Linked DNA regions of Homo sapiens: region 1 is linked to region 2. Evidence: promoter capture Hi-C in human tissues and cell types (Jung and others, 2019). All regions are on one chromosome and are shown on one strand. Each heading gives the region's core, a stretch centred on a gene start or on the middle of the fragment in contact. The rest is flanking DNA. Distances are from core to core; before and after follow the strand shown.

Region 1 (2,995 bases), core at 488-2,987, 150 kb before region 2:
TCCCCTTTGGTGTCTTCCTCCTGCTCCAGCCATGTAAGACATGCCTGCTTCCCCTTCACTTTCTGCCATGATTGTAAGTTTCCTGAGGCCTCCCTCAGCCATGCTTCGTGTACAGTCTGCAGAATTGTGAGTCAGTTGAACCTCTTTCCTTTACAAGTTACCGAGTTTCAGGTATTTCTTCATAGAAGTGTGAACCTCTTTCCTTTACAAGTTACCGAGTTTCAGGTATTTCTTCATAGAAGTGTGAATCTCTTTCCTTTACAAGTTACCGAGTTTCAGGTATTTCTTCATAGCAGTGTGAGAACAGACTAACACAGGGTCATTGCAGATATAATTAGTTAACATGAGGTCATCCTGAATTAGGGTGGCCCATTAGAGTAGTGTCCTTGTAAAGAGAGGGAAATTTGGACACAGACATACAGAGGGAAGAGAGCCATGTGAAGACGGAGGCAGAGATTGGAGTGATGCCGCCACAAACCAAGGAACACTGAAAACTGCTGCTGGAAATCACCAGAAGCTGGAAGAATCAAGGAAAGATTCTCCCCTAGAGCCGCTGGAGGGAGCATGTTAATGTTCCATTAGTATCAGAAAGAAGAGGAGCAGGTGTGCCGTGGCTGCATGGTCCTTGGGGACCTTCCAGAGGAGAGTTTCAGGAGGGAAGCAGGAGGACATGGCCAGGTTGAAGGTGATCAAGGAGGGTGGATGGAGGGAAATCAAGGCAGCAAAACAGACTTCTCTGAAGTGTGAAGGAATGATTTAAAACACAGGAGAGTTAGGGAAGTTTCATTTTGTGTATTAGTTATCTATGGCTGTGTAGCAAATTACCCCAAAATGCAGCAGCTTCAAACTTTGTTTTTTGAGATAGGGTCTTGCACTGTTGCCAAGGCTGCAGTGCAGTTGCCTGATCACAGCTCACTACAACCTCAGCCTCCAGGGCTCAAGCCATCCTCCCACCTCAGCCTCCTGAGTAGCTGGGACCACAAGCAAGCACCACCACGCCTGGCTATTTTTTGTATTTTTTGTAGAGGTGGGGTTTTGCCATGTTATCTAGGCTGGTCTCAAACTCCTGGGCTCAAGCAGTCTATCTGCCTTGGCCACCCAAAGTGCTGGGATTACAGGCATGAGCCAGTGTGCCAGACCCAACACATACCTGTAAGTTTACAGTTCCTGTGGGTCTGGAATCTGAGCACAGCTTAGCTTGGTGCCTCTTGGTGTCTGTCAAGGCTGTAATCCAGGCATCGGCTGCTGCTGCAGTCATCACAGGACTGGTATGGGGGCATCTGCTTCTGAGTTCACATCCGTGGCTGCTGCCAGGATCTGGATTCTTGTGGGCTGTGGCCAGAGGCACCTGTTCCTTTCCATGTGGACCTCTCCATAAGGCTGCTCACAATGTGGCTACTGGCTACCCTCAGAGGGAGTGAGGGAGAAAGAGGGAGAGTAGAGGATAAGAAAACACTTGGAGGGCCAGCAAGACAGAACCTGTCTTCTTGTAACCTAATCCAGGAAGTGACATATTCTGCTCTTTAGAAGTAAGTTACTAGGTCCAGCTCACACCCCAGGGGTGGGGATTACACAAGGGCCTGGGATACCACAGGGCAGGGGCTTAAGACCCCATCTCAGTGGTGGGCTCAGGAGGCTCTGGGGAGTTGGAGAGGTGGGGAAGGGAGGAGAAGCACAGGCCTGGACGGGAGGGGGTGCCTTTAGGGAGGAGGAGACGTTCGGCTTCTTGGACAGGAATTAAAAAATGAGAACATGCGCGTGGAAAAGAGAATCGATGTAAATCTGTCTGCAATCTTATTTTTTCACTCAATATTTTATGGATCCTGTTTTTATGTGGTCCTCACTGGTGGAAACAGCTTTTTCATAAATCTCTGTCTGGGCTTCCCAACAGTGTCAGCAGTTCCATCCTAGGGCTGGCACAGGTGGGGCCAAGACAAATCTTCCCCTGGGCTGGAGTGCAGCAGGAGCCCACCCAGGGCTTGGGGCTGGGAGAGACCTCTCTCATCCTGCACTGGCTCCTCCTGGGCTGCACGGGGTGCCAGAGAAAGTCAGGTGGCGTGGGGGCTCCTGTGTCCACCTGTGTTTCTGTTTCCGGTGTATGCGGCTGTTTCCAGTGCGCTCCTGCCCTTGTGCTGGCCCAGGGCCCCTGGCCAGAAGGACCCCTCCTTGCCATGGAGCGCTGATGCAGGGTCTAGGCCTGCATCACCCAGCCAAGGGCCCTGGGGCCAGTAGCCTTGGGAAGATGCCTGGGCCTCGAGACCCACCTGGACGTGGGAGTTGTTTCATGGCCTGGTCCAAGCCTAAACCTGATCTAAACCTTTGCCAAGAGCTTGTGAGATGGAACATCCCAGTATTTACCCAGCCTTCTCCTAGAGCTCCATCCTGTGGCCCCATCACCATGACAGCCTCTTAACAAAGGAGGAAACACTTCCAGGGGGTCCCACCTCCTCTCAACGGCTGCCCTGCCGAGTTGGCCTCGTGATTTGAAGAATGCAGTGCATTTTATTCTAAGGTTGGGTCTTATTACCCAGGGAAGCTGTTGGACATACAGAGCTATTTTAAAGGAGCAGAAATAGAACAGAAGAAACAGTCTTCCTGCACATTTCTTGCTATTCATAATATTCCCCTCTGCGAAGCTTTGATGGTGGAAAGGTTGAAGATGCTGGCTGGTTTGAAATAGTGGACCTCCCTGGAGGGACCCTCTGACCCCATATGTTGATTAATCTTATTCTGGAACATCCATGGCCCTGACTCCACTCCCCTTGGTGGATGTGGCCACACAGGCTCTCATACCCAGTTTTCCCTCAGAACATAGTTTCTTTGCCCAGAGTTGCTTCTCTCTCTCCTTGAGGCTTCTCCAGTGAAAATGAACATCTCCCTGGCCACTCACTCAAGCCCTACTGCAGTGGCTGAAAGCACTTTCAAGGAACCAGCCTACAGCCCCAAGAGAAGAGCCACTTGCGGCCATCAGCAGGGATTAGGAAGCTCACACCTG
Region 2 (3,065 bases), core at 306-2,805:
AAATTATTCCAAAATAAAAAGTTTATTTAAAAGAAAATGCAGCCATTGTCTAACAAGTTCAGGGGATGGATAGAGTGTGCTGTAAAGGGCCCTGAATTTGTAAAGTAACACAGTTTCAATTTAATGAATCAATCCGGTATTAACTAGCCAACTCACTAATGATCAGTTACCACTATCCAAATAATCAAGAGAAATCTATAGGTGCCTCTACTGTTCTGGGTTAAAAGCACAAGAACCAAAGCTCACTACCCCCACCGCCAGCTCTCCCCAGCAAACCCAGTCAACAGGTGGGGGCTGCTGGCCTTCCAAGGAGCTCCTGTGGACCCCAACTTTCCTCCTTGTGGACTTTAAAGCCCCCTGTGGCCACTCAGCTGGGAAGAGGACACAGTCACCACCCTGGATGGTGTCTAGAGAGGCTACATTCAGACTCACATCTTGAGACCCCTTTAATGGCAGGGGTTCTTATTGCTTTTGTTTTGGGGAGACAGTAGGCGGTGACTGGAGTGAGTAGTAAATGCTTGTGAAATTGATCCTAAACTCTGAACTGCACGCTGGCATTTTAAGGCAGGGAATGGCCATGCCGCCCCAGTGGATGATCTTGGGTTCCCACAGAATGCTCACCCTAGACGGCAGGAGTACAGGTGCGTTTCCAAGTGTAAACCTGTCCCTGGGCAATTCCCTTCTAGAAGTTTGTTTTTCAGCCTGCAACTCTTCCATGAACTCGACTTGTCTAGCCAACCCCCTACACGTCACCATGAGGCTCTCCAGTAAGTGCCGCGCACCACGCCTCCCCAGCACAGACTCCAGATTATTCGGCACCCACCTGGCCCTCTCCTAGTCTTCTCATCAATTTTTAGCATCCTGGGCCAGAAACCTGGGGTCACCCTCCCCAGCTGTGAGCTGGTGGAAGTCTGCCATTCAACCCACCTAGACTGCCAATGAAAAGAACCACCAGATGCCCTGTGGGGCAAGGGGCTGTGGCTACCCTCTCTCTCCCCCACCTGTGGACCAGGTCCCCCAGAGCCAGGCAGCCCTTTCCTGGGAGCCCTCCCTGCATTCCTCCGGCTGGTTAGCCCAGTTTGGGGTTCTGCCCTGGTAGGCTGATAGCCCCTCACCTCATGCCGAGGCTGCTGCCCCGACTTGCAGGAACCCTCAGATGAAGGACCCTAAGGAGGGCCAGCTCTGTGTCCATGCCCACTTGGATCTTGAGAGCTGCCCCAGGCACGTGTGGACTGGTAGTGCCCCTGGACTCAGAGCTTTGGGTTTTGCCCACCCTGGAGCTGCCCGGCTCTGTTCCTCAGCATATACTCTCTTCCTCATTCCTACTTCATGGTTATATGTAAATGCAAGCACACAGAAGTTTTCTACTTTAAAACTCAGAAGATCAGCAGATCACTGCTCTCTCCTGGTGCTCTGGGGAGCCACGTGGCCTCTCTTTGCACCAAAACTCCCCATCCAAGTCCAGCTCCACTCTCTCTCTGCCTCAGCTGCCCTGCAGCCCTTTCCTCTTGCTCTTTGATGTTTTGTAGGCCTGCAGCTCCCAAGCACAGAGGCATGAGTGGGGAGAATGTCACCAAGGTCAGCACCTTCATCCTGGTGGGCCTCCCCACGGCCCCAGGGCTGCAGTACCTGCTCTTCCTCCTCTTCCTGCTCACCTACCTCTTTGTCCTGGTGGAGAACCTGGCCATCATCCTCATCGTCTGGAGCAGCACCTCCCTCCACAGGCCCATGTACTACTTTCTGAGCTCCATGTCTTTCCTGGAGATCTGGTACGTGTCTGACATCACCCCCAAGATGCTGGAGGGCTTCCTCCTCCAGCAGAAACGCATCTCTTTCGTCGGGTGCATGACGCAGCTCTACTTCTTCAGCTCCCTGGTGTGCACCGAGTGTGTGCTTCTGGCCTCCATGGCCTACGACCGCTACGTGGCCATCTGCCACCCGCTGCGCTACCACGTCCTTGTGACCCCGGGGCTGTGCCTCCAGCTGGTGGGCTTCTCCTTTGTGAGTGGCTTCACCATCTCCATGATCAAGGTCTGTTTTATCTCCAGCGTCACGTTCTGTGGCTCCAACGTCTTGAACCACTTCTTCTGTGACATTTCCCCCATCCTCAAGCTGGCCTGCACGGACTTCTCCACTGCAGAGCTGGTGGATTTCATCCTGGCCTTCATCATCCTGGTGTTTCCGCTCCTGGCCACCATACTGTCATATTGGCACATCACCCTGGCTGTCCTGCGCATCCCCTCGGCCACCGGCTGCTGGAGAGCCTTCTCTACCTGCGCCTCTCACCTCACCGTGGTCACCGTCTTCTATACAGCCTTGCTTTTCATGTATGTCCGGCCCCAAGCCATTGATTCCCAGAGCTCCAACAAGCTCATCTCTGCCGTGTACACTGTTGTCACGCCAATAATTAACCCTTTGATTTACTGCCTGAGGAACAAGGAATTTAAGGACGCCTTGAAAAAGGCCTTGGGCTTGGGTCAAACTTCACACTAAGACAACTAAATGTCCTAGAGTAAAATCTGTAGTGATGAAACAACATTGTATGTGGCACTTTGTGCTCTTTAAATTAATTTTTAAGTTAAATTTAACAAACCTACAGAACTAAGTGAAATTTAACAAACCTACACAACTGTGCACAAGTAACAAGCCTTCGTCTGCATATGTTTTCACAAAAGGACTGTGCTCATGGAACCAGCTCCCAGATCAAGAACTAGAAGCTGCCTTCACGCCCTCTCCCAGTCATTAACCCTTCTCCACAAAAAGCACTGTCCTGACTTCCAAAACCAGATGCTAGCATTGGTGTTTCTGAGGGGCTTACACATAAAGTATGTGCCCTGTTATGTTCAGCTTCTTTCATTCACCGTGTTGCTTGAGTGAATCCTTGATGTTTTTGCATGTAACAATAATTCATGCATTCTCATTGCTATCCAATATTCATAATAAATAATACATTTATACTGTATAATACACAATGCATAATACATTCATACTGGGATAATACATATACTGGGATAATGCATATACTGTATTGTGTATTATATATACATAATACATTATGCTGGGTG

What was found. Contacts are between HindIII fragments. The study calls those that stand out against the background at their distance.
Region 1: a fragment that was not itself captured here is called in contact with the fragment with the promoter of OR6B2 in region 2 in 2 of the 25 tissues and cell types used here (dorsolateral prefrontal cortex and lymphoblastoid cells).

What each region holds. Positions count from the first base shown.
Region 1 is chr2:240,178,771-240,181,765 of GRCh38, reverse strand. No RefSeq gene overlaps it. Among named protein-coding and RNA genes, the nearest start is that of OTOS, 40 kb to the right of the region's middle. The HindIII fragment of the contact is 8,115 bases long and covers 1-2,995 here.
Region 2 is chr2:240,028,919-240,031,983 of GRCh38, reverse strand. It overlaps OR6B2 (olfactory receptor family 6 subfamily B member 2), which reads left to right and starts at 1,555. Exons shown (of 1, transcript NM_001005853.1): 1 at 1,555-2,493. The coding sequence starts at 1,555. The coding sequence ends at 2,493. The HindIII fragment of the contact is 5,539 bases long and covers 1-2,478 here.